2 separate regions of the Homo sapiens genome follow, and region 1 is linked to region 2. The links are contacts of gene promoters, found by promoter capture Hi-C in blood cells and fetal thymus (Javierre and others, 2016). All regions are on one chromosome and are shown on one strand. The core of a region is centred on a gene start or on the middle of the fragment in contact, and the rest is flanking DNA. Distances in the headings are between cores, read along the strand shown. Region 1 overlaps LTB4R (leukotriene B4 receptor). Region 2 holds the start of PCK2 (phosphoenolpyruvate carboxykinase 2, mitochondrial).

The links. Contacts are between HindIII fragments. The CHiCAGO score rates a contact against its expected background, and 5 or more counts as called.
Region 1: a contact is called between a fragment that was not itself captured here and the fragment with the promoter of PCK2 in region 2, in 2 of 17 cell types (total B cells and neutrophils). The highest score is 5.1, in total B cells.

Annotation. Positions count from the first base shown.
Region 1 is chr14:24,315,836-24,320,176 of GRCh38, forward strand. It overlaps LTB4R (leukotriene B4 receptor), which reads left to right. Exons shown (of 2, transcript NM_001143919.3): 2 at 1-2,201. The coding sequence ends at 875. ADCY4 (adenylate cyclase 4) reads right to left here. Exons shown (of 25, transcript NM_001198568.2): 21 at 3,907-4,053; 22 at 3,494-3,601; 23 at 3,263-3,377; 24 at 2,819-2,943; 25 at 2,524-2,733. The coding sequence ends at 2,581. Among named protein-coding and RNA genes, the nearest start is that of LTB4R, 6.5 kb to the left of the region's middle. RefSeq lists an enhancer at 245-745. The HindIII fragment of the contact is 5,052 bases long and covers 1-4,228 here.
Region 2 is chr14:24,092,157-24,096,706 of GRCh38, forward strand. It overlaps PCK2 (phosphoenolpyruvate carboxykinase 2, mitochondrial), which reads left to right and starts at 2,155. Exons shown (of 10, transcript NM_004563.4): 1 at 2,155-2,278. The coding sequence starts at 2,250. The region is part of intron 1 of NRL (neural retina leucine zipper); the gene reads right to left. RefSeq lists a silencer at 1,921-2,170 and enhancers at 2,178-2,827, 2,481-2,550. The HindIII fragment of the contact is 4,962 bases long and covers 1-4,550 here.

The DNA of each region.
Region 1 (4,341 bases), core at 453-2,952, 220 kb after region 2:
TGGCCGACCTGGCCGTATTGCTCACTGCTCCCTTTTTCCTTCACTTCCTGGCCCAAGGCACCTGGAGTTTTGGACTGGCTGGTTGCCGCCTGTGTCACTATGTCTGCGGAGTCAGCATGTACGCCAGCGTCCTGCTTATCACGGCCATGAGTCTAGACCGCTCACTGGCGGTGGCCCGCCCCTTTGTGTCCCAGAAGCTACGCACCAAGGCGATGGCCCGGCGGGTGCTGGCAGGCATCTGGGTGTTGTCCTTTCTGCTGGCCACACCCGTCCTCGCGTACCGCACAGTAGTGCCCTGGAAAACGAACATGAGCCTGTGCTTCCCGCGGTACCCCAGCGAAGGGCACCGGGCCTTCCATCTAATCTTCGAGGCTGTCACGGGCTTCCTGCTGCCCTTCCTGGCTGTGGTGGCCAGCTACTCGGACATAGGGCGTCGGCTACAGGCCCGGCGCTTCCGCCGCAGCCGCCGCACCGGCCGCCTGGTGGTGCTCATCATCCTGACCTTCGCCGCCTTCTGGCTGCCCTACCACGTGGTGAACCTGGCTGAGGCGGGCCGCGCGCTGGCCGGCCAGGCCGCCGGGTTAGGGCTCGTGGGGAAGCGGCTGAGCCTGGCCCGCAACGTGCTCATCGCACTCGCCTTCCTGAGCAGCAGCGTGAACCCCGTGCTGTACGCGTGCGCCGGCGGCGGCCTGCTGCGCTCGGCGGGCGTGGGCTTCGTCGCCAAGCTGCTGGAGGGCACGGGCTCCGAGGCGTCCAGCACGCGCCGCGGGGGCAGCCTGGGCCAGACCGCTAGGAGCGGCCCCGCCGCTCTGGAGCCCGGCCCTTCCGAGAGCCTCACTGCCTCCAGCCCTCTCAAGTTAAACGAACTGAACTAGGCCTGGTGGAAGGAGGCGCACTTTCCTCCTGGCAGAATGCTAGCTCTGAGCCAGTTCAGTACCTGGAGGAGGAGCAGGGGCGTGGAGGGCGTGGAGGGCGTGGGAGCGTGGGAGGCGGGAGTGGAGTGGAAGAAGAGGGAGAGGTGGAGCAAAGTGAGGGCCGAGTGAGAGCGTGCTCCAGCCTGGCTCCCACAGGCAGCTTTAACCATTAAAACTGAAGTCTGAAATTTGGTCAACCTTGTGAGTGGGGTACATGTGCTGTGGGTATCGGGGTGCTCGTGGGCGCCCTGGTGGGGCCCCTCTCGGTAGTTGAGAGTCACGTCCTTTAGTTCCCCATGATTTACAATTTTGGAAGGGACACAAAGAAACATAGACTTCCCCCATCCCAGATGATTCCGAGTACATAGTCTGCAGATAATACTTAGCAAAACGCAGTCTACAGACTCCTAAAGCAGCTTGTCTAGGAAGACCACCCATGTGGGCTTATCACTCCAGGTTCTGTGACCCGGGACCTTCTGAGAAAACAGCACTGCTGTGAAATATCTTCCTTGAAGCCTGTGATAAGTCTCCTTGTTAGAATGACTCCAACTTCCTGCCAATAATCTTTGTCCTCTCCATAGGAGATGTTCTAGGGGATGCCTTCCTTCCCTCCATTTCACAAAGAGGCCAGACTTGAGGACTAAGTCATTAGATCTTATCCCTTAGAATTTTGCATATCAGCATCTGCTAACCTCCACAACACACCCTGGCACAGGGTGGGGCTGAGGGCCCCAGGAAACAAAGATTCCCAAAAGTGAGAGGGATGAGTCATTATTTCCTAGAGATGACTGTTGTTTTAGAGAACCTTGGTCCAACTCTGTTCTGACAAGGTTTTAGGAAGATGGCAACAACAGTGGCAGCAGTGTACTTTTTGGATCTTTCTCATAAAAAAACAAAAGAGCAAGTAAGAGAGGGAAACCAAATATCCACATGCAACATCCGCAACAAATCTAGTATGTCAAGGTTTGACATACTCCCATGGACCCCAAAGTATGAGCCAGTGAGAATGAGTCATCAATATCTCAAGACCCATATACCAGCATCTGTGCAGAAGGATGCAGAAGGAAGCAAAGGGATGTTGGATGGACCTAAGAAGAGGAGATCCCCAAGCTGTCTACAGATCCTTACTGGAAGGTATGGTGCACCAATTTGAGAACAGCAGCTGAAACTGGGAGGGACCTAACGGAGTATTTCCCAGTCCTCTCGCCCATTCTGTATGGTGAGCACATAATAGGTACTTATTTAGTGTTTGTCGAATTAATAAAGTTCAAATGACATTTCCCTGGAGATTCTTCCGGTATTTTTGAGTAGGGGGCAGGAAAGGGCAAATTTTTGTTTTGAGTCATGTGGCTAAATTCTTTATGCTTCCAAGGTGTACAAAATACTATAATCAAGTTGGCAGAGAGGCTGAGGGAGTTCTCTTCCTGAGCTTGTGAAAAAAATCACTCCCTTTCAAAATGCTTAGTCTCACATGCATGCATGTGTGCAGGCATGTGCACACACATTCACACACACACTCGCACTAAAATTGGCCTGGGAAGAAGAAGAATTCCCACTGAAGGGCAATGAGAAGGTGATCCCCAGCTATATCAGCAGCTTCAGACATCAATGGGCTCCAGACACCCCAGAGTCTCTTTATTGAGGTTCTTAGAAGGCGAGTGCAATCTCAGCCTAGGGTAGCTGAAGGAGGTCCAGTTCGTGTCAAGTCTGTGTTCAGGAAGTAGGTGCAGAGCTGCCCTTTGCCTTTCACCTTGATGACACCCCGGCTGTAGCAGGTGTAGCCCAGGGACTGTAGGGCCCATGCTGTCTCCTCAGTCACCTACAATTGGAGGGGGGCGAGGGAATATGGAGGTGGCCCTATTCTTAGTCCCCCTCCCCCTATGCCTCCAATGTGGTTCCCTCACTTGGATTTTGCCAAGGACTCCTGTACTCTCCATGCGGCTGGCCACGTTCACTGTGTTGCCCCAAATGTCATATTGCGGCTTCTGGGCCCCAATAACTCCAGCTACTACGGGTCCATGGTTCAACCCTAATGAGGGATGTGGTAATGACAGACTTGGAGAAGGAAGAGGGGAAGAGGAAGCCACAAGGAACTGGAAGGAAGGGAGAAGAGCCTGGGGGGCCCTAGAGGAGAGGAGGGGTCTCTAAGGGCTGGAGGAATGTAGCTTAAGAAAAAGAGTGGGAGAGCCTCGTACCTCCTTGCCCAGCACCTTCACACCCCATCCCAGGGAGTGAGTCAGGAAAGGGGCTTCAGGATGAACTGGGAGCAGCTAACAAAGGACTTGGAGTGGGGCAAGCTCAGGAAGGTGAGGAGGTACCAGACTGCTGCAGCAGGGGAAGTCTCTCACCCACTCGCAGGCGGAAGTTGTTGAATGAATGCTTGTTGATGACGTCCAGCTTAGACCCCAGGGCCACGGCAAATTCCACCATAGTGCCAAGGTGGCTGCAGCTCCGTTCAGCATCCTGGCAATGGGCCCGCCCACCAGGGTGGGCCAGTGAGGGCACAGGAATAAGTCCCACTAATAAGCCCATCAATGAGAGCCCAGAGGAGGATGGTAGGTAAGGAAGGGTTGCCGTACCTGTTGTGCATCCTGTCCAGAGGTGGCATTTAAGCCTGTGGCTGCCATGTAGGTGCTGCCGATGGTCTTGATCTTCTCCACCCCACTGAACTTGGGCTTGGAGAGCAGCTGTATATAGAGAAGAGTCCTGTCCCCAGTCTCTCTTACTCTCTCCATCACCTCTCCCAGAAGCCCAGCCCCAAGCCTTTGGAGTTAAAGGATCAGGCTGTGGGAGTGGAGATAGTGTCAGGAAGGAGAGGGTTGGTGGTGGGCAGTGTTGCTGGAGTGGGTAGATCTGGGGGATCAGAGGAGGTGAGGGAGTACTGTGGAGGGGAGGATTGACTTCATGGCCAGAAAAGCAAAGTGGAAGGAGGTACTGGTGGAAAATTCTAGAATCTAGGACATAGGGTCTGGGAGACTCTTGGAATTTTCACCTCATCAAAATCAGCAATTATCTCATTGAGCAGCCTCAGACACTCTAGGCCCTCATGATTGATGTTGGATTCAGAGTAGAACTCCTTGAAGTCTGGGACTGAGGCGAAGAGGACACAAACGCATTCATAGGACTGGTGGTAGAGATCCTGGGGGAACAGGAGACTGGAGTGAGGGGTGTGTGTCATGTTCCTCTCCCTTCTAGAGGTCTGCGTGGGGCCCTCCTCCCCATGTCCACACTCCTGGTCTCCCTGTTTAAGAAGAATTGGGAAGGAGGGAGAGGAGTAGGGCCAGGCTACCCCAGGGAAGTGACTTAGGAGTCAAAGCTTAGATCTCATTGTAATTCTAGAAGAGACAGAGGTTTGGCGTTAGGATCACCTCACAGCAACACGAAGGGAGTCACTCCTAGAACTGGGATCCTGTCAATGTGAATTATT
Region 2 (4,550 bases), core at 905-3,404:
TCCAAGTGGATTTGCATGCACAGTGTGGGGAGTGGCTTGGTAGGGAGAGGGGTTGGTGTTTGGAGAGGCAGGAGTCCAAGAAGTGCCTTAGAAGCTATCACCTGAAGCCAGGTGAGAGATAAGCCCTGAACTAAGGCCCTGGCCATGGGGATAGTTGCAGACTTGAGGGCTAATTGAGAAGTACAATTCCAAAGGTCCTGGCATCTGATTAGCTATGCAGGATAAGAATAGTCTAGACTGATTCCCTTTGGGGCAACTGGCCAGATGATGGTGCCATTTGCTGAGGTAGGAAACCATGAGAGCAGGTGCAGGATTATGGAGAAGATGATGACCTTCAGGTCAACCATGCTGCCACCAGTGTGCACACCTTTAGGCCCAAAGGTTGGCCAAGAGGTATGTGTTTGCAGCTGGGTAAGTGTGGACAGAGTTTGGATCTATGAACTGGGGGGAAAGAGATCCAAATACATATACCTGAGGTTGAGTGTAGGCTAGAGCCTGAGGGGGAAGAGACGGGGACCAGTAGCAAGCCCGTGGCTGGAGACCAGCTCTCCTTATCCCACTATGTTCCAGCATAGAACTCCAAGAAATCTGAGAATCAAGACTGTTTCTGTTGCAAGTGGCAGAACTCCAATTAAAATTAGCTTGAGCAAGAGAAGAAATGCATCAATTCCTGTAACTGAAATCAGGAATCCATTGCTCGCCATCTCCCTGCTCTGCTTCCTCTAGGCTGGCTTCTGTCTCAGCCAGGTTCCTGCTTTGCAGTGCCAAGCTAACACTCAGCAGCTCCAGGCTTATATTCTACCAGCTCAGCAACTCAGCAGAAAGAGAGCTAACTTCCAAAGTTTTAGAAAAAGTCCCAGAGAGGGATCTCATGCCCATCCTTGAACATCCTTGATTGCTGTGGCCAGAGTGAGGAACACAAAAGTTGGCTAAGCTGCAAGCCTACCCCCAAGAGGGGTGACATCAGACCCACATGACAATACAGACTGAGGAGATGGTTCCCCAAAAGAAAATCAGGGTGCTATTACCAGAAAAGGCGAGTGGATGCTGAGCAGACACCCATCATAGATATGCTGAGTTTGAGGTGCTATATAGCATTGTGGGTGATATCCAGTGGTCTCAGGTTGGAGAGAGATGTCCCAATGGAGGTATAGCTTGAGAAATCACCTGAGGACTTTATGATGGTAGTTGGGTGGGCAGATGAGTTTCCTCATTGGATTGTGGAGAGAAAGAATGACCAGGCCGGGCGTGGTGGCTCACGCCTGTAAATTCCAGCACTTTGGGAGGCCAAGGCAGGCGGATCACGAGGTCAGGAGTTGGAGACCAGCTTGGCCAGCATGGAGAAACCCCGTCTTTACAAAAAATACAAAAAATCAGCCGAGTGTGGTGGCAGGCGCCTGTAATTCCAGCTACTCTGCAGGTTGAGACAGGAGAATTGCTTGAACCCGGGAGGCGGAGTGTGCAGTGAGCCGAGATCGCGCCACTGCACGCACTCCAGCCTGGGTGACAGAGTAAGACTCCGTCAGGGGAAGAGGGGATGTGCCGGGGGAGGAGAATGACCAGATCAGAGGACCAAGGAAGAGACCCAGGGGTAGAGAGACTCCACCATTTCATGGCAAGGCAGAAAGGAGCCTTGATCAGGAGGAGAAACGGGGATTTAGGAGTTGGGGACTAAGTGGACCTTAGCATTGGGCACTTGGACTACAGAAAGGCCCAGGACTCAGGGTGTCGCGTCCCCAGGAGGAGGAACTGGAAAGGCAATGCCCAACCCCCTAACTTCTAGACGTCTGGCCCCTGTAGTCTCCCGCCCCTGGCCTCGCCCCTCGTTCCTAGCTTGTTTGCCACCTAGTGTCTCTCCCGGGAGCAAGAGTCCTCAAAGTTACATCATGTGCGGCTGGGAGGGCGGTGGCGGATGGGGGGCGGGGCCTCGAAGTCGGGGGCCGAAGAGTGGACCCAGTCCTCCAATGGGAGAGATGGGTTTGGCGGTTTGGAGGCAGGGGTTGGGGCGGCGGCTGGGCTGACCTGGAGCCTGGAGCCCCGGGGCCGAGGGAGCTGGCCTGCCAGCGGGGCGGAGGAAAGCTAGTGCCAGCCCTACCAGGTTCCGCCCCCGCGCCTGCCCCCCTCCTTTTTAAGCGCCTCCCGCCAGCCTCTGCTGTGGCTCGCTTCGCCGCGCTCCCTCCTTCCCCGCCTTCCATACCTCCCCGGCTCCGCTCGGTTCCTGGCCACCCCGCAGCCCCTGCCCAGGTGCCATGGCCGCATTGTACCGCCCTGGCCTGCGGTGAGTGACCCCCGGCCCGGGGCCCACCCGCACCTTCCGCTGCGCTCGCCCCCTCGGGGCTGCCAGTGGCGCTCTCCTGCTCTCAGCCTCCGCCAGGTTTCCCATCCTAGGCGGAGGCGGGCAGGGGCGACTGCTGTGGGTCCAGCCTCCCGCGCCGCGCGTCTCTTGGGAGGGCAGCCGGCCGGTGCTCCTCGTTTCCGCCTGCACCTCCCCTTCTCTGCCTCGCTCGCCTCTGACCGCGCGATCTCTATCTGCCACTCTCAGAACTTCCTCTCTCTCCTCGCTCCTCTCTGCTGAGCCAGGTCTCCGCATATCCTCCTTTCCTTCCCAGATACCTCCCTCGGACCTCTAACGGGCTCTCAGCCAGCGCCCCAGGGTACTTCGAGAGGCAGCAGGGCCCTGGGGACAAGGGTACGTGAGCCCCGGGAGACTAAGCTCAGAGCCCCCTAAAGAAGGTGGAAGGTTAAATATCCATTCCCGGCCTCTCCCGGACTGGAAGGACTGGAACCTGGCGGGAAGTCCAGAGCAGCCCGAGGGACCTGGGCCCAGGGGAGGGAGGCAAGCAAGGTGGGAGGAGGGCGCCAAGTTGCCTTCGTTTCTTACATAGCTGGCTTCTTCCTCCGTCCAGGCCTGGAGCCCCCAGGCTCGTCCTGTTTGTCTGCCTGTCCTCTTAGTCTCCTATTTATTCTCTGAGGCCTCTCTTCTCAGCTTTTGTCCCAGAGTCGGAAGTGACCCACATCTGTCGCACAGCCCGTTCCACTTGGGCAGCCCTTGTGGGTGGTCTCTGAAGGAAACGTCCCACTTAGAGGGCTGCAAGAGGGTGTGGGGGCTTCACAAGAGATAACGTGAGCCAGGCTCCAGGGAGAGAGAGGCTGTCCTCAAGACTGTGTGCTTGAAAACTGATGCTCACGGAGAACTTCCCTCTGAGGCAGGAACAGACCCAGGTCCCAGTAGCCCTCCTCCCCTGCCCCTGGGGCCACACTGATCATCTATCCTGCTTTAGCGGAAACCACCCCAGCTTCTACCCCAGACAGACTCAAGCTCCCGTATCCATGCTCTGAGCTTTCTTCCTTCCCCAGGCTAACACCCTCTGAGTCTGAGCTGCCAGCAAGCTGCTGTTCCACCCTCCCACCAACACCAAAGCTCTCTAGGCATGTGGCCTCTAGGAAGAAGAGCCAGGGGAAGCACGGGGTCACGTGGTCCTGGGTGTGGGGGCAGTTTCTGATGGGCGAGGCCTTGATAGAGGAGGAGAGTAACATCCCCTTCATGGTCTTTGCTCTCTCGGGTTTACTCCACCTTGAGTCCAGGCCAATCAGAGCAGACGTTGCTTCTCTGTCTCCCAGGGCCATGAGAGGACAGACAACAGGACGCTGACCTCCTGAGAATTAAGCCCATGAACCCCAGCCAGTGACACTCATTCCCCAGTGGTCAACCTTCCGCAGAGTTCAGAAATACTTACCCGAGGGCAACATTTTATGCAACCATTGTTGGTCCAAGTGGGCAGCAGCAGATCAGGGCCTGGAAGCCCAGCATCCAGTCACCTATTCTCTGTGCAAGAGCCCTCATCTAGAAACCTGGCACTGGAAAGACTGTGACCTTTGCTTGGGGCTTTCATAGTCTTACAGCATACACACCAGAAGGAAAGAATAAACACAGCTGCCATTTTAATTTATAAAAAACTATACTTGAAAATGGAAATAAAATGGATGAGGCTTCAAATACCAGACATATGAAATTGTCACCTGGGCCCAACTTCTTGTCTTGACACTTGGGCCAAAGGCCCCTACTCATTTCTTTTTTTTTTTTTTTTTTTTTTTTTTTTGAGACAGAGTCTTGCTCTGTCGCCCAGGTTGGAGTGCAGTGTCCCGATCTCGGCTCACTGCAACCTCCACCTCCCGGGTTCAAGCGATTCTCCTGCCTCAGCCTCCTGAGTAGCTGGGACTAGAGGCACACGCCACCACATCCGGCTAATTTTTATATTTTTAGTAGATGGGGTTTCACCATGTTGCCCAGTATGGTCTTGATCTCCTGACCTCATGATCCACCTGCCTCAGCCTCCCAAAGTGCTGGGATTACAGGCATGAGCCACCGTGCCCAGCCATCTCCCTACTTATTTCTAAACGTTGATTAAACAGTTAAACATGGGCATGGGCTACACAGGCAGTAACATCAGCATGCCTACATGTATACTTCCACACAGCCAGGCATGTGCCTTTTTTGCTCATTTGGCCATATCTGTCCCTCGCTGAGCAGGAGACACCCTCCTCAAGCC